7 separate regions of the Homo sapiens genome follow, and regions 1, 3, 4, 5, 6 and 7 are each linked to region 2. Evidence: promoter capture Hi-C in 16 types of primary human blood cells and fetal thymus (Javierre and others, 2016). All regions are on one chromosome and are shown on one strand. The core of a region is centred on a gene start or on the middle of the fragment in contact, and the rest is flanking DNA. Distances in the headings are between cores, read along the strand shown.

Region 1 (2,700 bases), core at 28-2,527, 340 kb before region 2:
TACATCCCTCCAATATCAAATACTGCTCTGATTTCACCCTGGGGGAGGAGTCCTGTTTTAACTCCAACCCCAAGTTCAACCACTTCTTAGAGCTCAAACAGCTCTCCAAGCTCTCAACTTAGATGGCAAGTCATTTTAAGCCCAGTAGAATGGGAGTCCCTTCAGATGGCCATTAGACATTGACATTCAAGTGCTCAAATTGCCATATCTCAGAAAAAAAATAATCCAGTGATCAAGAAGCATAACACAGTGGGTAACAATAGCATATATGCCATGAAGTACCTTGATCCAGAGGCTGACAATAACTGTTTCTCTTGAGGTGAGCAGGTCTCCAAGGGAGTTCTGAGAACCATTGCAACAGGAATTGACAAGCTGTGGCCCATGCATTTTGAGTTAGTGCAAACTGTTTTGGTATGGCCCACTTGCTGAGATTGGCTTTTCTATTTTTAAAGGATTGTTTAAATTTTTTAAAAAGAATATGCAACATAGGCCAGGCATAGTGGCTCACGCCTGTAATCCCAACACTTTGGGAGGCCAAGGTGGGCAGATCACGAGGTCAGGAGATCGAGACCATCCTGGCTAACACGGTGAAACCCTGTCTCTGCTGAAAGTACAAAAAATTAGCCGGGCATGGTGGCGGGCGCCTCTACTCCCAGCTACTCGGGAGGCTGAGGCAGGAGAATGGCATGAACCTGGGAGGTGGAGCTTACAGTGAGCTGAGATCGCGCCACTGCACTCCAGTCTCGGTGACAGAGCGAGACTCTGTCTCAAAAAAAAAAAAAAAAAAAAAAAGCAACGTAGACCACATATGATTTATAAACCCTAAGTATTTGCTTTCCCTCCCTTTATAGGAAAAAGTTTATGGATCCTTGCATTTTAAAAAAGATTGACAATTTACTTGTTAGTGTATGTTAAAGCTTTGTAATAAACTTGCTGTAAGGGAGGAGTTTGTTAGTAGGCTAATTCAGAGATTTGCTCTTGATAGGGACATTTTGTAGCAAAAGAGAATTGTTAGAAAAATTACTAGATTTGACATCAAAATAAAACAATATTTTGTTAAAGGTCACTAAATTCTTGGTTGACAGCTGGTCAACTGCATGGGTCATATCTAATTTCCCAAAATAAGTCCTAGTGTCATTAAAGTTCATGAGAATCAATTACAGAAGCATTTTGTCAGGAACACTCATTTCTTTCTGAGAGGAGGTTGTAAGTAATATCACACAAACAGGTTTGGGACTATTTTTCTTTTTCAAGGCAATGTAGTATATTTTTAAAAGCATACACTGGAGTGCTGGGGTGCAGTAAAAGAAAAGTAAAACTGTAGGAATCTTTTGATGCCACACTAACTCATACCTTGTTGGAATTTAGATACACAATGAAATATGAAGATAAAACAATGGGAAAAGAATCAGAAGACCATCACAGAGTGGGTTAGAGCATTGAAAACAGGATCTATGTGGGAAAGATGAAAGGAATTGAGATATTGCTGCTAAGATGGGGTCCAGGAAAAAGTTAGTAATTATTTCCAGGGGTATGAAAAGGTCTCTGAATCTGAGGAGCAATTTTGCATCTCTTCTGAAAAGAGATAAGAGTTTAACCTGCTGCACAAAGATTTTGGTGGTTAAGAATAATAATTTTGAAGCTTCAAGTAATCAACCTTTTCACAAATTTGCATAGTGGCTGGGTCTCTGGGATATCTTAAAAATAGAACAGAGTTGGGGCTCTCTGTCATGGGTTTAGTGTGGTCTTGCCTGAAGGTTTAATCAGATAACCCCTTATGATCAGTCTTGCATTATCATTTAAGACCACACTAGGTACGAGGCTCTCAGCGGTGGATCAAAGGGAAAATAAAAGAGGACCACACTGGGTGCAGATCACCAGATCCACTGGCTTTCTAGGGGATTAAAAAGAAAGCCACTGTCCCAGAGGACTTACTCTATGACAGAAGGATAGGGTAAACAAATATACAAGTGGCAAGTTACGGGGTCGCAGTATCACAGGAGAAGGGGGAATCGTTGCAATATATAAACATCTGAAAAGGGACACAATTAAAAATACAGCTCATAAGGCAAAGATCTGGAGGAGGTGGGGAGACACAGATATCTATGGAGGAGAGGTCTGAGAATAGGGGACAGCAAATATAAATATGTTCCCCTGGCATTATGGAGGAACAGCAAGAAGGCCAGTGTGGGTGCACAGCTCTGAACAATAGGGAGAGTGGTCGTTAAGAGAGGGTGCTGTAGGCTCATGAAGTGTCTTGTCCACCTCTACTCTGAATGAGATGAGGAACCATTAGAGAGTTCTTAATCTGACTTGCGTTTTCAAAGGATCACTCTGGCTGTGGTATAGAGCAATCATTAGCCAACCTTTTGGTCTCAGGGCATTTGTACTCAAATTATTGAAAATTCCAAAGAGCTCTAACCCCTAAGAGCTCAGAAATGTAAATCTGATTATTTATTAATTTTAAAATAACAATAATGCCACTGAATGTTAACACAAGTAACATATGTTTTGAAATTATATTTTCCAAAACAAAAGAACAAAAAGATGTCAGTGTTTAAGTTTTTGCAAATGTCTTTAATGTCTGGCAATCAGTCTGTTCACTGTCATGTATCATGTAGCCTCTAGAAAGCTTCACTGTGCAGTCACAAGACAATGAATTTAAAAGGCCAATAATGTTTAGTATTCTTGTGAAAATAG
Region 2 (2,700 bases), core at 125-2,624:
GCTCACCAGGCCTCTCAGCTGGGGCCTCTACCGACCGGCGGGTGTTGCAGTACAGGTCGTGTTCAGCGTTCACGTAGCTGTTCAGGCGCTCCGCATCCAGCTGTTGCCGCCGCAGTAGTTCTTCTCTGTGCCTCTCTGTCTCTGCAAAGTACTGGCGGAGCTCTTCGGTGATTTCCATATTGCTCAGGTCACATGCTACCTCTGCATCTGACTCGGTCTCCATCTCTTCCTCCTTGGATAAGGCTTGGTCTTCTCTTGTGGATGCCTGGATCCTACTGCTGCCATGTGGATGTTGCCCAGACCCTCTGAAATGTGAAGAACTGCAGGGGGAGTCCTGCTAGGCCACATGATGGTCATAGAAGGACTGAGGATACGCAGCCTGGTTATCGTAAGAGCTTTGGGGAAGAAGCGCAGGAAGGAAGAACCATGGAAGACTGAAACAGGATTCCACCGCCTTCCTGTAGGCATTGTGGTGGCTTTGCATCCAAGCCATTGCTTGATGATAATGTTGCCAGTATCTTGCATATACTGGATGAGAATACCAAGGCCTGGTAGCTTTTGATGTTGATGCCTTCACCACTGCCATCTCCGATTGTGAAAGTCCAAATGGGTGCCGAAACTTGTGGGCGCGCAGCTTGCAGATCCTGGGCGGTGGCCAAGCAGGCCATGTTTTAGAATTCTTTCCAGGCGGGTCGCATTGGCTCACGCCTGTGATCCTAACACTTTGGGAGGCGGAGACGGGGCTGGGGGTGGGGGGATCGCTTGAGTCCAGGAGTTGGAGACCTGCTTGGGCAACATGGCAAAACCCCCATCTCTATAAAAATAATTTAAAAATTTTTTAAAAGAATTATTATTTCCATTTTATTTCAGTGCTTTGTCCTTTAAGAAAATTTATTGACATAGCGATAATCAGACTCCATACGCTATTTTGTATCTTGCTTTTCAAATTTGCCACAGGCTTCTAGAAACGTCCCAGACTTCTGTGTCTCCATGGAGGAAACCCCGTAAGTACTTACAAATGTTATGATTAGTCATCCCTAGCCAATACTAAGCAAAAGGTAGGCATGCGGTTTTATTAGTTTGGGCAGGAAGAAGGCATTCCAACCGGCTTCTTTCGCTCTTGCCAGGTTCAAACATGGCGGGCCGCAGCCGGCCCTTCCCGTACACTCGGCTTGCTTTCCCACAACCCCCGCCAATCTTTAGCGCTCCTTTTTTACCTTCCTTCCCCGTCAGCGGCTCCAGAGGGTCAGCACCTCCGAGCGTGACAGCGGACCTGCTTCCCGCCCCCCACGCGAGGGCCCGCCCACCAGCCCGCGTCAGCCAATAGCAGGCCGCGCCGATGGGGCTGGTAGCGCCGGTCGGCCCCGCCTCCCCAGCCTCGCTGTGGCCTGCGGCTCCCGGGCTGGTAGCGCGCCGCTCTCGGTCGCGCGGAGTGATCGTGTGGAATCGCGGGTCGCGGACGCTCGCCGCCGGCCATAGCTCAGCCTAGCGCCGCCAAGGCCGACGGCCCTCAGCCTCTGCCATGGACTTCGAGGACGGTAAGCGCTGCCTCTGGCTGGTCGGCGCAGCTGGCAGGAGGCGGGGTGGCCTACGCAGGGGGTCTGTTTACCGTCTCAAGATGGCCGTGTGGGCTTTGTTCTGCGGGCCCGGAGGCCGCCCGCCCGCCCCGGGCCCAGCGCCCGGAGTCGGCCTCTTTGGGGACCCACGCGCCCCGATTCGGCCCGCTCGGCGCCCGCTGCCGGCGGAGACAAGAGAACTCGGTGTCCGGTAGGACGCGCCTAGAGCGCGAGAGCCTCCGGGCTGGAGCCCCAGACTCGCCTTGGCCCCTGGTAGTGGAAATTGCCCCGACGTCTCCAACTTCCCGGTCTCGGGCAAACGGGCGAGTGCGGCCTCACCCACCTAGTCTCGCATTCGCCCCACAGGGCAGCGACCCAGACCGTCCGTTTAGTTAATCCTCAGCCTCGGGTTACTTCTTGCCAGATAGAATTTTCAGAGGCTTGTTCACAGTGATGTTTCTGTTTGTCCCGGTTTAAGATGAGTTGAAAGGGTGTCTGTAAGTGATATGTATAGATAAATATCTATGCAAAATGGAAAGCAAGATGTTTCCTGGTTAGTAAACTGGGGTGTTTATCACCAAAAATTACCTGCTTATTAATCCCTAACTTGAAATATTTATGTGAACCAAAGCACTTTTCTTTGGATCGTGTGTAGGTAGGATTTAAGTTAATCAGAATTTTGGCACAGCAAGCATCAAATGTCCTTCACATTTAGACCTGTACACAGCCTTGTAAGTGTTTGACTTACGGATTAAATAAACTGTATTTTAGCAATACTTTTCAGTTGTCTCAGATACTAATTCTTTAAACCACTTTTACAGGGTCACAAAGTAATATTAATTTGGTCTTCACTTTTGTTTTCAAACCTTGCTTGGAATTGGTGTCAAGATAAAGTGGTATGTAGTGACAACATTAGGGAGACATGGGAAAGGACTTATGTGATTAAACTGGATTTAATCCTGAGTAACCAGGCATGCTTAAGTAAAACCAGTTCACTAAGTAGGCTGTAAACTTTTAACCCCACCAAAAAAATGATCTTTAAATGAGGTGTGATCTCAGCATATGTCTTACTCGATGAGCTTTTGATTTTTCATAACATTTCATGCAACAAAGAATTAAAGCTTTCATATCTAGGTACAGATTT
Region 3 (2,700 bases), core at 39-2,538, 480 kb before region 2:
AACAAAATGAATTCTAAGAATTCTGAAACATCTTATATAGTCCAGGATAGATATAAAAACACATTGAAAAAAGAAACTCCTATCTAGACTATTAATGGCTTGCCCCAGGTCTCATGGCCAACAGAGCCACCAGTTGAATCCAAGAGAAGACCCCATGTCCAGTGCTCTTTCTAGCATACATCTTTTCCTTTCTAGCTCTATCAAATTCTGAATCTTGTTCTTTTATAACTTATTTTGAGTTTTTGCAAATTCTTAATAAGCCACAGACATATATCAGCTCCTACTCTTAGAGAATCAATTTGAGAATGAAATCTAGTGTTCTAATGTATTATAATTAACAGATGGTTTTATATTAGGCTGAGAACGTAAAAGAAAAACCCTACAGCTGCCGAGAAAAAAAAACGGAAAATCAAGGTCTAGCTAGTGTCAGACCTGAGTTACTCCAAACCCAAGAAATGGATGCATTCAGTATGAGGAACCTCAGAAGGCCAGCTGCTTTCACAGCACCAAGAAACCTCTGGCCCAGATTTCAACAGAGTTCAGGGAACACAGATTGAATCCTCCCAGGGATCCCAGCAAATATCTCAGTCACTAGCAGAACTCATGAGGGCTTTTTTTAGACCACTTCAAGGAGCAGAGGAGCACCAGTTCTGCTTTAATTGTGGACTTTCAGCCTGGCTTTCTTACAAATATTTTCTTGGAAGTCATTTCCTTTTTACAGATATGAAAAGGACAAGAGTCAATAACTGCCTAGCTGCTCCATGGTGGATTCCCATACGTGACCCAGATGACAGCATATATTCTTTCTTTAAAAGGGACGCATGGGAAATTTTCAAAGAAGTTTTTGGACGACTTCCCAGAAGACACATCAACTGAGGATGTCAGGCATCCCGCTGCAGGAATTGGTGTTTTTCCTAGGAGAAAGGTCTGGAAGGTCACCTTCATAGCACTTGTTTGATAAGGAAGGGCATAGTATAGTTCAGGCAGAGTGGGCAGTCACCACAGTGGGTAGTGATCAATTCTGTGTGAATTGATCCCCAATCATAGTCCCAATTTGAAATGGTCACAACTGGTTATTCTATGTTCTTGCAGTCTGTGCTCCTATTCAGCCAGTCTTGCACAATTGCAGTTTGAATTTCTAGATCAAGCTACCTTAATCTGAACACATGGGCAATATCCAACTCACCCCATCTTCAGAATTCTCACCACTGAGCTCATTCTCCAGGGTCATTCTCAGAATTTGTCCCAGGCCCAAAGAAAACTCATTTTAAATCTCTGCAACATGTCAGAAAAACACGACAAACTGCTTAACCAAAAATAAATAACTAAACATTCCTCATCAACAACAATGTGCTCAATCATACACAGCTGAACCACTGGGACTCTGGCAAACTTCCTGAGAATGCAATTTTTTTTTTTTTTGAGACAGAGTCTCGCTCTGTCGCCCAGGCTGGAGTGTAGTGGCACGATCTCTGCTCACTGCAAGCTCCAGCTCCCGGGTTCATGCCATTCTCCTGCCTCAGCCTCCCAAGTAGCCGGGACTACAGGTGCCCGCTGCCACGCCCGGCTAATTTTTTGTATATTATTTAGTAGAGACGGGGTTTCACCATGTTAGCCAGGATGGTCTCGATCTCCTGACCTTGTGATCCGCCTGCCTTGGCCCCTCAAAGTGCTGGGATTACAGGCGTGAGCCACCGCGCCCAGCCAAGAATGCAAAATTATGGGTGGCCTTGATTCATAGACTTTGGTTCTTTTCTTCTGATCTGACACTTCATTAGAACAAACTTGATCCACGATGCTGAGACAAAATTTAAACACCATGGCTAGGCATGGTAGCTCACGCCTATAATCGCAGCACTTTGGGAGGCTGAGGCAGGTGGATTGCTTGGGCTTAGGAGTTCGAGACCACCCTGGCCAACACAGCAAAACCCTGTCTCTACCAAAAATACAAAAATTAGCCAAGTATGGTGGCAAGCGCCTGTGATCCCAGCTACCCGGGAGGCTGAGGTGGCAGGATCACTGGAGACCAGGAAGTTGAGGCTGCAGTGGGCCATGATTATGCCACTACACACTAGCCTTGGTGACAGAGCAAGATTCCATCTCAAAAAACAAAAAAAAAAGTTAAAAAATAAAATGTATATCATTAAAGAAACATTTTAATTTAGAACCCTGAAGGTAAACTTCCTCAGATCTCTGTTCAGTGTGATTCTCCCTCAGTCCTGCACCAACCTCAACTCCCCTGTAGGAGGCTGTGTTCTCTATGGTTATGCCTTCCCCACCAGAGTACAATATATTTAAGAAGAGGAATTACTATATTTATCTTGGTATTCTCCCTCACCTCTGTCAGGTCCTCAGTGCTTTTTTTATGTGTTGTAGGCATTCAATGTTTACTTAATAGATATAAATTCAATGTTTAATACATTTATTTCTTTAAAGAAATAGAAGATTTTCATTCTCATATTTTTCAAACACTGAATCGAAAAAAAACTTTAGTATTGGATAAGATTGTCTTCCATTTATCATAAAAATTTTCTCAAGACTCAGAGAAAATCAAACTCTTATCAAGGTGGCCACATGGAGCATAGCTTAATGTTGATGACACTCAGAGATTTTCTTTAAATTTTGGTTGTTTTTCAGGGAATCAGCCCAGAAGACACCTGCCAAACCCAGGAGTTAGGTGGTTATTTCATGTGGGTCATG
Region 4 (2,700 bases), core at 117-2,616, 490 kb before region 2:
TCCCTTCATAAACAGAGAACAAAGAATTATTTATATTTATGGCATTTCAAAAGTATTTGAAACTACTGAATCATACCAGTACATACTGCAATTAATAAAATATCCATGGTCTCTGATATAGAAGGGGAAACCCAGATGCCTTCAGGAACCCACCCTTTGTGTGAGGATTGAATCTCTAGAGCAGTAATAAGTGCTAATGAAGAAAACTATGATCAAAATAAATGACTTGAGTCATCATATGGTAGTTAGTTCAAATCTAAGTCAAACGTCAAACCAATCTTTGGCACTCTAAGATCCTTCCTTCTACAGGCTGGCACCATGCAACAAATAGCCCATCTGTATTGCTGGGGATAGCACCAATGAGAACTGACTTCCATTTACATAAAGACAGACTTCAATGGCTAATATGACCCTATATATAGTATGGCTTACTTATAAAAACTGAGCATTAAATATGCCGGTAGGCTATAATGCATACAATGAATCATTTTCTTACAAGCATTTTCAGTCTTTTTCAAAACGCTAAATCCACAATTTGAAAGGGCCTAAATTGCCTTAGCTTAAAGGTAGCTAACTAGAAAAGACAACCTTTTTACATGCACTAGAGTATAACAAGCTGGCCCTTTTTACTAAATATATATACATATAATTTCATTCCAAAACAAGGTTTTTTTAGTTGTACTTTTTATGGTTGGAGAAATAATTTTTTTAAGGAAGGGTAAACTTTGGAGTCATATGGGCCTTAATTCCTTAATTCTTACTAGCTGTATAGCTATGGTTACCTGTAAGCCTCTGTTTCTGATCTGCAAAATAAGGATAGGAACATCCATCTCAAAAAATTGTTCCGAGGCTAAATGGGTTGCTGAGAGAGCACTTAGGAAAGAGTCTTTAAAAACTAAGCATTAAGTAAATATTAGTGATACTTGTGTTTCTTTCTTCTACCCTCCATGTTCCAAGAGAAGAAAATATATTTTTGAAATTTAAAAAGTAATCTCACCTAAATTTAGCACCACATCCGAATGGATATATTTTTTAGGAAGCGGCTCAGATAAATACATCTGATGTATTTATCTGATGTGTAATGGTAGCAGGCACATCCCTAAAGCCAGTACACAAGTTAAGTTTTTAAAATCTAATTATTAATTATGTTTAAATCACAGTTCACAATTTAAACGAACCCTGTGAACTATCCTTGCATAGAATAAATAACCACTCCTAATTAGCCATTTTTATAATTCTGTTTGTGATCTCTATATGAATAGTTTGCTTAAAATGAGATATATCTCCACTTAGTTCTTTGTAAGCCAATAATTTTATATTCATCCATCAATGGCAGTAGACTTTGCAAAAGAGTATTCTATAATGCTTATTGGAATTCATATCTAAAAACAAACTATTATCAGGAAGAAAATAAGATTTGATTTATTCAAAATCATGAGACCATTGCTACATTTCAGTATTCCACGGACATGCCTCTCCAGGGTATGTGTGTGTTATAACATGTGCTACATATGTCACAACTATGGCAGAGCACCAAAAATTAACAAGAGGAAAAATAACATTGAATGCATCAAAAGGGCCTGGTCCCCTTTATTGAGAGGTAACTTTATCTTGACTTGTGTGGGCATTGAAGGAAAAAAAAAGGTCATTAAAGTCAAATTCACTACAAAACGAATACATCTGAAAAAGAAGCATAGAAACATTAGACATTGGTATATGCAAAGTATAGGCTAGATTGTTCTAGTTGCAATAAAAATTCAAAATAGCTGGGCACAGTCACTCATGCCTGTTATCCCAGCACTTTGGGAGGCTGAGGCAGGAAGATTGCTTTAGCCCTGTGCTCCAGACCAGCCTGGGAAACATAGTAAGACCTTGTTTCTACTAAAAATGTTTAAAACTTAGCTGAGCGTGGTGGGTGTACACCTGTAGTCCCAGCTACTTGGGAGGCTGAGGCAGGAGAATTGCTTGAGCCTGGGAAGTCAAGGCTGCAGTGAGCCGTGATCACACCACTGCACTCCAGTCTGGGAAACAGAGAGAGACCCTATCCCACACACACACACACACACACACACACACACACACACACACACAAAATCAAAATAATGATAACAGTAAACTGCAGGCTAGTATGATTTTGTAGGGAATTAAGTATCACAATTGGTCATCTAGCAGCAGATACCAATCATTAATACCACTGCTTCTCACGTCAGCTTAAGCCAGTTGTGATCTGAATCTATTTCCACTGGTACAGATAAAGAATCACTTCCTAAGGAGAATTTAGTTGTCAGCTCTTCTAGAATCTGTTCTAAAAAAAATCTTAAACAAAGATTGAAATGCCATCTGCTAAAAAATATTCTGGCATAACAAATTTAAACAATGTGAAAGCCAGAGATTAAAAATGTAGCTCAATCACATTACCATTCTTTGGCTGGCAATGAGAAAGCAGATGTTATAGGAAACTGAAAAGTATTCCATTTGAGCATAATAGGTCTCAAATGTCCTTGTTATAACTCCCAAAATATTCATATTCCAATGGGGTCTTTGTGATTTTGTTGTTGGAGTTATTAACTTGTCAGATTGCTCTGGTTTTTCTGGGTCTAAAATCATACATTCTGTTTTAGGAGAATAGACGATTATCGTTTTATGATTAAAATCACCACTTTCAAATATTTCTATGATGTTCAAATGGCACATTATTTG
Region 5 (2,700 bases), core at 128-2,627, 370 kb before region 2:
GATTTCCTCATCATCCTAAGAAATAATCATAAAAGAGTTTAAAAATTCCTTTTGGCCAGGCGCGGTGGCTCACGCCTGTAATCCCAACACTTTGGGAGGCCAAGGCGGGCAGATCATGAGGTCAGGAGATCGAGATCATCCTGGCTAACATGGTGAAACCCCGTCTCTACTAAAAAAAAAAAAAAAAAAAAAAATTAGCCAGGCGTGGTGGCAGGCGCCTGTAGTCCCAGCTACTCAGGAGGCTGAGGCAGGAGAATGGCGTGAACCCAGGAGGCGGAGCTTGCAGCGAGCCGAGATCGCCACTGCACTCCAGCCTGGGCGACAGAGCGAGACACCATCTCAAAAAAAAATTCCTTTCCCCTTAAAGCACTCAGAAGTCTTGCACCACTCCTCACCTCACCCTCCTTGGGAAACTGGAGAGGCTGAGCTGCCAGTCTGATCTGAGGAAAAGTATTGTGATGTGACTTGTAGCCTAGGCAGCATCACAATGTGCCCACCTGGGGAACCTGGAAATTGGGCAGTTTGGGGCTGGCAGTAATAGTCTTTATAATCATGAAAAATGGAAACATCTCCAGGTAGAGAATTAGTAACTTTTAAAATATTGTTGCTCTTTCCTCCCTCTTTGGATATAGACTTAAAGACACTCAACATCTCTTGGTATTTGTTTTAGGTTACTAAATGATTTTTCAAATGCATCTATGTTAGGAGTCTGGGATACAGCAAAACCTTATGTGAAACATTTCCAAGTGGCATAACTAGAATGTCTCCCTACTCAAAATGGGCTATACGGTATCTTTTTTTCTCAGTCAACATGGGCTGATGCATACCAATTCACCCTTAATGGTCCTGAAATATATTCACTGTAGAGAAATGAAGATCAAAAACATCGTATATGTGAAGATAATTAGGTATGAAACTCCAGATAAGCAAGACTGTTTATTTTTGTTTAGCACTCTAGGGGGAAAAAATGACATTTTCCAGCAGTTTAAAATACTGTGATGTTTTAAGATAGAAAGGGCGTGATAAGAGTGTGGGCTTTCAAGTCAAGCTGTCCGGGTTATACTCCTGGCTGTGCCACTTACTAGCAGCATGAGGCTAGGCAAGTGACATTAGCTGTATGTGCCTCAGACTCCCTATCTGTGAAATGGGAATAGTAAGATTACCTGTTATCCTGTTGTTACATGGATGAAATGAAATCATACATGTAAAATTTTTTTTTTTTTTTGAGATGGAGTCCCGCTCTGTCGCCCAGGCTGGAGTGCAGTGGCGCGATCTCGGCTCACTGCAAGCTCCGCCTCCTGGGTTCACGCCATTCTCCTGCCTCAGCCTCCCGAGTAGCTGGGACTACAGGCGCCCGCCAACACTCCTGGCTAATTTTTTTGTATTTTTAGTAGAGACGGGGTTTCACTGTGTTAGCCAGGATAGTCTCGATCTCCTGACCTTGCGATCCGCCCGCCTCGGCCTCCCAAAGTGCTGGGATTACAGGGGTGAGCCACCGCGCCTGGCCTACATGTGAAATCTTTAACATCATGCCTGACGTAGAGTAAATCCTCAGCAAATGTTAATCAGCTACCTTGTCTGTATCATTCAAATCACTGCAGCAAGTTGTCAGCCTACAACTTGCTTGTCATCTTACAAATGTGCAGACCTGGTTGCTCTTAAATCAATACTGTTATACTTTAAAGTCTCTGATAATTTTTCAATCAGAAAGTGTTTGTTTCAAAGCAAATGATCAGATATATTATTATAGAAGGTATAATTTTGAATTTTGGTTAAGCCAATAAAATGAACAATTAATATAAAATGGTATCAGATCAGATATAAATAGCTATTATCTGGAGCATTTTACAAGCTAAAGAATATTCGAGACACTTAAGAGATCAGAGATGTTTTCAGTCTCCTAAATGAGACCATAAGCTGTTTTCATGTTGTGGTTAAATGCTCCTCCTTTTGGTCACTGGAAGCAGTTCATCTTATCTGAACCCTAGTGTTTTCATTTTGGAAGCTATCAACGCAACTAACTCAGACACACACACACACACACACACACACACACATGCGCACACACACACACATTCTTTAATGTAACATGGTAATTCCTTTTCACTGAGAATTGATTTTTAAATAATTTTTCAAAATAAAATAGAATATAAAATATTGTCTCATCATTGTAATGAAATGTTATCATGCTGGACTTTAAATTAATGGTGTCTTTTCTTTGAAATTCCTTAATCAGAGTACATCACTTCTAATAGCTCTCTATTGAATCTTCCTCAGAAACAAGGATGGAAGGCTATCATAAATGCCACAAGAGAGGCTGGGCACAGTGGCTCACGCCTGTAATCCCAGCACTTTGGGAGGCTGAAGTGGGCAGATCACAAGGTCAGGAGATCAAGACCATCCTGGCTAACACAGTGAAATCCCGTCTCTACTAAAAATACAAAAAATTAGCCGGGCATGGTGGCATGTGCCTGTAGTCCCAGCTACTGGGAAGGCTGAGGCAAGAGAATTGCTTGAACCTAGGAGGCAGAGGTTACAGTGAGCCGAGATCGTGCCACTGCACTCCAGCCTGGGCAACAGAGCTAGACTCCATCTCAAAAAAAAAAGAAAAATGCCACAACAGGCCTAGAAAAGCATTCATAGGAGAGAATATTCATTAGGCCAGGAATGATTCAGAGAGGGAGGGTAGATAAGTATATC
Region 6 (2,700 bases), core at 42-2,541, 390 kb before region 2:
TTGAAAGTGCATAGTTTATATTTTAATGTTTTAACCTAAATCTACATTTGCTGTCATTAGAAGAATGGAGTGTCATGCTGGATTTCTGACCCTGTGGGTGATGTTGGATAATGACCCCAACCTCTTAAAAAGAGTTGTTAACATTTAGTGTTTTTTGTTTCAGTTTGCAAATGAGGCTCACGTCAGTTTGGGTTTTATTAGAGAATGGAAGTTCCAGTTTAACTCCCTGAGAGTGCTGATTTATTATAGGAAAATGCTGGCAAACATTTTAGACTTACAAAATGACTTCTAATCACAGTTCAGGCTAAATTTGTTCTTCTGCTGATTTAGAATGTTGGAGAGTGAGAAGAGTGAGGAGGAGGGACAAGTTAGGCTGTCCTTATTGAATTCATGCCACGTTCCAGATAAGAAGCTGCCTTCCTTGCCCTGGAAGATGCTGTGACCCTGGCTTTGCCTTCTGGCTGAATGCACTACGAAGCAGGAAGAAAGCTTCAACCCCAGCTCTAACAATCCACTGCCATTTAACACTGGTTCACTTGGCATTTCCCCTGAGGTTCTTCAAAACGCTAGCCCTTTGAAATGTTTGTCATGTCAGGTCCACGTGAGTCACCTGCTCAGGTGTCCCCAAGGCCCGTTACACAGTGGGACTGTGGCTCTAAGGGGTCCCAGGCCCTCTCCACTGAGCTCTTCTATGAAAGGAAGATGACTTACCAAACGACCTTACTGGGACTTTGCACTATTTTTAAATTTTCTTCTAGAAGATGAAAGAAATTAGCTCTTCTCCCTTTTTCTTTCTCTCTGGTAGTGAGTATAATAATTTCTCCTGATGAACAGAGTGTCCATGGAGAATTTTTTCATGCTGGAAATAAGGCAGATGGCTTGGGTGTTGTCTCAGATCATCAGTAAAGGCCCCAGCTAAGTTAATGACTAGAAGGGCCTGGAAGAAATTAACATGCTTCTCAGGGTAAGCTGTGGCTTGGGGAAGTTGGTGAGGATGCTGGAGGATGTCTGACAGAGGGAGAGAAAATAGGGTTCTTTTGACTTCTGGGCTTCAGCACTAGCCCTCGTGATCCTGCCATTTCCAGTGTGATCTGCAGTGTGATCTGCATGCACAGGGTAGCAGCCTAACTGAGCCTTGTGAGTGGGTGGGCTTGGATGCTCGCTAGCTGGCCTTCCAACTCCAATATTCTGATCTACATAAAATGCTGAGTGAGTGGGAAGTGTTGATCATGTTTAATACTGAGTAATTTTCTTAAGAACTTGAGTATGTCATACATTTCTTTTTTCAGCTTTGGAAATGATTCACTTTTATGACACATGAATAAGACTTTTATTCACTAAAGAACCTCAAGCATAATAGCAAGTGAAGGAGGATGGAATTATCTTAAAGGGCTGTTCTGCAGTGCCTCCCCGTCAGGAGAGCCAAGTAGACAGTGAAGAGAAGCTATTTAGGGCAGTACAGTTAGAAACATTCCCAGCAGGGCCTTCACAATGCTCAGGTTACAATTCCCAGTTAAGAGAAATGTCCTGAGGTTGCACAGGTATAAAGGTGACCTGTGAGGTACTTGGCTGTCTTGGGCTTTAACACCAAAATTTGAAAGCTGAGGCTGACCCTTTATCACTGGCTTTCCTCCCAGAGTCTGACCTAGGGCAAATAGATGCCTGACAGTTTTAAGTTCTCCAGTTTCTGTTCAGCTGAGACCTGAGTGTCAGGTCAGCTAACAGGCTCCCCGTTGGAGAAACATGACTCTAGGTTTCAGTGCACTGAGAGATGTTAACTTCTGCCTGGTCTTAGGGTACAGCCCCACCTGGGTGCCAGCTCCAAGGGCAGACTATGCGCTCACCAGGTTCATCTGATAATGCAGTGGGCAGACATAGCTATGTGCTGTTCACTTGCTCTGTGCCCTCATGCCCAGTCTAAGACTGTCCAAGGCCCGGCCTAGTCTCTGCTTTATCTGGAAGAAGACAAGAGCATTTTCCTGGACTGACAGCCCAGAAGGTACTCATCTCCAACCTGGATCAGAGCCCTATTTTCACCAGTAACTCTTGAGTCATCTTGTACCTCTGAGCCTCAGCTTCCTCGTCTGTAAAATGTAAGCTTTATTTTATAAATATTGAGTGTCTGCTACTTACCCAGATGCTGCCTAAGGTATTGTGAATACAGTGGGGGACAGCAGGGACAAATAAGACCCACTCCTCATAGAAACAAACCTCATAAGATCTTAAGAGGATTCCACGAGATAATATGTGTAAAATGTTAGCATCTTGTCTGACCCTAGTGGTTGCTTTCTACGTTAGCTTTAATGAGTTTTCCTCCAAAGATGATAGAAAATATTTCAAAGTATGTCCTTTCCTGCCTTGGTCTGTGCACATGCATTTCTGCCAAAAAGGCTCTTCCTTAATTCCTATGCCTAGCTAACTCCTGTTCATCCAGTTCTCAGTATAAATGGTCACTTCTTCAAGGTGGCATTTTTCTGACCAGTCCATCCTTAGATCCCCCTGTTGTTTGTTCCCAGGGCAACTGGTACTATACTTTGAGGTATCCATCCTCTTGATAACTATGACTTATTTAGTGTCTGTTTCCCTGACTAGACTGTAAAGCTAGTGTAAACAGCATCCATGTTCACCAGAAATCTTGATGCTGAGCTTTGAGATTCTGCATAAACATCTGACCATCTTGCTGATATTTGAAGGGAATGT
Region 7 (2,700 bases), core at 2-2,501, 410 kb before region 2:
AAAAAGTGAAAAGATTCCGCATGCATGTGGAGCAGAAGGACATCATTTATAGAGTATATCTGAAACAGATAATAGTCAAAGTCATTTTGTTTGTGCTCATCATAACTTATGTTCCATATTTTTTAACCCACATCACTCTTGAAATCGACTGTTCAGTTGATGTGCAGGCTTTTACAGGATATAAGCGCTACCAGTGTGTCTATTCCTTGGCAGAAATCTTTAAGGTCCTGGCTTCATTTTATGTCATTTTGGTTATACTTTATGGTCTGACCTCTTCCTACAGCCTGTGGTGGATGCTGAGGAGTTCCCTGAAGCAATATTCCTTTGAGGCGTTAAGAGAAAAAAGCAACTACAGTGACATCCCTGATGTCAAGAATGACTTTGCCTTCATCCTTCATCTGGCTGATCAGTATGATCCTCTTTATTCCAAACGCTTCTCCATATTCCTATCAGAGGTCAGTGAGAACAAACTGAAACAGATCAACCTCAATAATGAATGGACAGTTGAGAAACTGAAAAGTAAGCTTGTGAAAAATGCCCAGGACAAGATAGAACTGCATCTTTTTATGCTCAACGGTCTTCCAGACAATGTCTTTGAGTTAACTGAAATGGAAGTGCTAAGCCTGGAGCTTATCCCAGAGGTGAAGCTGCCCTCTGCAGTCTCACAGCTGGTCAACCTCAAGGAGCTTCGTGTGTACCATTCATCTCTGGTCGTAGACCATCCTGCACTGGCCTTTCTAGAGGAGAATTTAAAAATCCTCCGCCTGAAATTTACTGAAATGGGAAAAATCCCACGCTGGGTATTTCACCTCAAGAATCTCAAGGAACTTTATCTTTCGGGCTGTGTTCTCCCTGAACAGTTGAGTACTATGCAGTTGGAGGGCTTTCAGGACTTAAAAAATCTAAGGACCCTGTACTTGAAGAGCAGCCTCTCCCGGATCCCACAAGTTGTTACAGACCTCCTGCCTTCATTGCAGAAACTGTCCCTTGATAATGAGGGAAGCAAACTGGTTGTGTTGAACAACTTGAAAAAGATGGTCAATCTGAAAAGCCTAGAACTGATCAGCTGTGACCTGGAACGCATCCCACATTCCATTTTCAGCCTGAATAATTTGCATGAGTTAGACCTAAGGGAAAATAACCTTAAAACTGTGGAAGAGATCATTAGCTTTCAGCATCTTCAGAATCTTTCCTGCTTAAAGTTGTGGCACAATAACATTGCTTATATTCCTGCACAGATTGGGGCATTATCTAACCTAGAGCAGCTCTCTTTGGACCATAATAATATTGAGAATCTGCCCTTGCAGCTTTTCCTATGCACTAAACTACATTATTTGGATCTAAGCTATAACCACTTGACCTTCATTCCAGAAGAAATCCAGTATCTGAGTAATTTGCAGTACTTTGCTGTGACCAACAACAATGTAAGTAAATCCATTCTTTCTTTTATTCAGTATCTGCCGTACTTATAGTGCATTACATAGGGAAAGAAAACACACTTCAAATCATACTGTGTGTTCTCAAGCCAAGCCCAATCCGATCTTGCATAAATTACCAAAACACTGAGCATCCATTTTTAACCTAAATTACAAGTCATCGTGGAGATTTTATGAAAAAACATAAAAGCATTTGGCACAGTTCCTGGCACATAATAGTTGCTCAGCAAATGTTTTTCTCTTTGTTTTTTTCCCAGTTTTCTACATAAACATCACAAAGTATTTTAAACTATTTAATTCATTATGGTAGAGCTTACTTTTTGTTTTATAAAGGTTTTAGGTATTTAGGGAGTTTGGCAAAACTTTTCAGCTTTCCAAATCTGTCATAATAAAATAACTTCTTGTTCTAAAATGCTGGGATTATGAATTATTCATAAATCCTTTTTGTGATGTGGTGAAAAAGATTTGAAATCTGCATGCATGTCTAGAAAGATGATTCAAAATGAAAGGCCTGCCTCTATAATGCAACACTACAGCTTCTTAGAAGCTTTTTCCAGGATCCATGCTTTAGAATGAACCAAATTTGCAATAGTAAAACCAAATTAAAGAAAACTTAACTTTACCAAACCATGAAAAAACAAAATAAATGAGTAGTTTCCTAGGTTAAGATATGGAGGAGGAGGAAAAAGGAAAAATTCACTGTAGTCTAAAGGCAAGAGAGTGAGGCTAATGTCCATTTGGGAAGAAAGAGGGAAAACCTGGTCAGAAATCAAATCTACCAAGGGATGAAACTGACATTCCTCTACTTGAAAATGGGTACAGCTATTCCACCACACTTCAAAATATATTATCCAAAAATTAGCTGCGCGTGGTGGCACGGACCTGAAGTCCCAGCTACTCAGGAGCCTGAGGCAGGAGAATCGCTTGAACCCGGGAGGTGGAGTTGCAGTGAGCCGAGATTCCACCACTCAAGCACTCAAGCCTGGTAACAGAGCGAGACTCTGTCTCAAAAAAAAAAGAAAGAAAGAAAGAAAGAAAATGTATTATCTTTTAGACTTTTTGTAGTTCATATGTCATGGTAAATATAGCTATGAGCATGGTGTTGGCTAATAAACATATTAATCATACATTATTTTTGAAAAACATGGGTGTTAGATAAATACCAGAAAATTGGGGGATGAGAGCAAAATTCATGCTGATTTTTAGAACTCTCAGACTTTATTCATATGTAAAAGGAGAGAGTCCATTGTTAGATAAATGAGAC

Evidence for each region. Contacts are between HindIII fragments. The CHiCAGO score rates a contact against its expected background, and 5 or more counts as called.
Region 1: a contact is called between a fragment that was not itself captured here and the fragment with the promoter of ZNF326 in region 2, in 2 of 17 cell types (erythroblasts and megakaryocytes). The highest score is 5.5, in erythroblasts.
Region 3: a fragment that was not itself captured here is called in contact with the fragment with the promoter of ZNF326 in region 2 in 14 of 17 cell types (non-activated CD4 T cells, total B cells, naive CD4 T cells and 11 more); the score reaches 14.4 in non-activated CD4 T cells.
Region 4: a fragment that was not itself captured here is called in contact with the fragment with the promoter of ZNF326 in region 2 in 3 of 17 cell types (non-activated CD4 T cells, naive CD8 T cells and total CD4 T cells); the score reaches 6.8 in non-activated CD4 T cells.
Region 5: a contact is called between a fragment that was not itself captured here and the fragment with the promoter of ZNF326 in region 2, in 8 of 17 cell types (naive B cells, total CD4 T cells, megakaryocytes and 5 more). The highest score is 6.3, in naive B cells.
Region 6: a contact is called between a fragment that was not itself captured here and the fragment with the promoter of ZNF326 in region 2, in 12 of 17 cell types (fetal thymus, naive B cells, total B cells and 9 more). The highest score is 9.2, in fetal thymus.
Region 7: a contact is called between a fragment that was not itself captured here and the fragment with the promoter of ZNF326 in region 2, in 1 of 17 cell types (naive CD8 T cells). The highest score is 5.5, in naive CD8 T cells.

Annotation. Positions count from the first base shown.
Region 1 is chr1:89,650,799-89,653,498 of GRCh38, forward strand. The region is part of intron 1 of LRRC8C (leucine rich repeat containing 8 VRAC subunit C); the gene reads left to right. Among named protein-coding and RNA genes, the nearest start is that of LRRC8C, 19 kb to the left of the region's middle. The HindIII fragment of the contact is 725 bases long and covers 916-1,640 here.
Region 2 is chr1:89,993,736-89,996,435 of GRCh38, forward strand. It overlaps ZNF326 (zinc finger protein 326), which reads left to right and starts at 1,375. Exons shown (of 12, transcript NM_182976.4): 1 at 1,375-1,538. The coding sequence starts at 1,523. It also overlaps the pseudogene GEMIN8P4. RefSeq lists enhancers at 1,027-1,593, 1,594-2,159, 2,041-2,090 and a silencer at 1,181-1,820. The HindIII fragment of the contact is 7,808 bases long and covers 1-2,675 here.
Region 3 is chr1:89,517,743-89,520,442 of GRCh38, forward strand. No RefSeq gene overlaps it. Among named protein-coding and RNA genes, the nearest start is that of LRRC8B, 5.7 kb to the right of the region's middle. The HindIII fragment of the contact is 3,959 bases long and covers 1-2,700 here.
Region 4 is chr1:89,500,720-89,503,419 of GRCh38, forward strand. No RefSeq gene overlaps it. Among named protein-coding and RNA genes, the nearest start is that of LRRC8B, 23 kb to the right of the region's middle. The HindIII fragment of the contact is 5,382 bases long and covers 1-2,700 here.
Region 5 is chr1:89,621,126-89,623,825 of GRCh38, forward strand. It overlaps a transcript of LRRC8C not described here. Among named protein-coding and RNA genes, the nearest start is that of LRRC8C-DT, 10 kb to the right of the region's middle. RefSeq lists a silencer at 1,805-2,099. The HindIII fragment of the contact is 8,438 bases long and covers 1-2,700 here.
Region 6 is chr1:89,602,624-89,605,323 of GRCh38, forward strand. No RefSeq gene overlaps it. Among named protein-coding and RNA genes, the nearest start is that of LRRC8C-DT, 29 kb to the right of the region's middle. The HindIII fragment of the contact is 1,609 bases long and covers 488-2,096 here.
Region 7 is chr1:89,583,366-89,586,065 of GRCh38, forward strand. It overlaps LRRC8B (leucine rich repeat containing 8 VRAC subunit B), which reads left to right. Exons shown (of 6, transcript NM_001369817.2): 5 at 1-1,424. Among named protein-coding and RNA genes, the nearest start is that of LRRC8C-DT, 48 kb to the right of the region's middle. The HindIII fragment of the contact is 1,459 bases long and covers 523-1,981 here.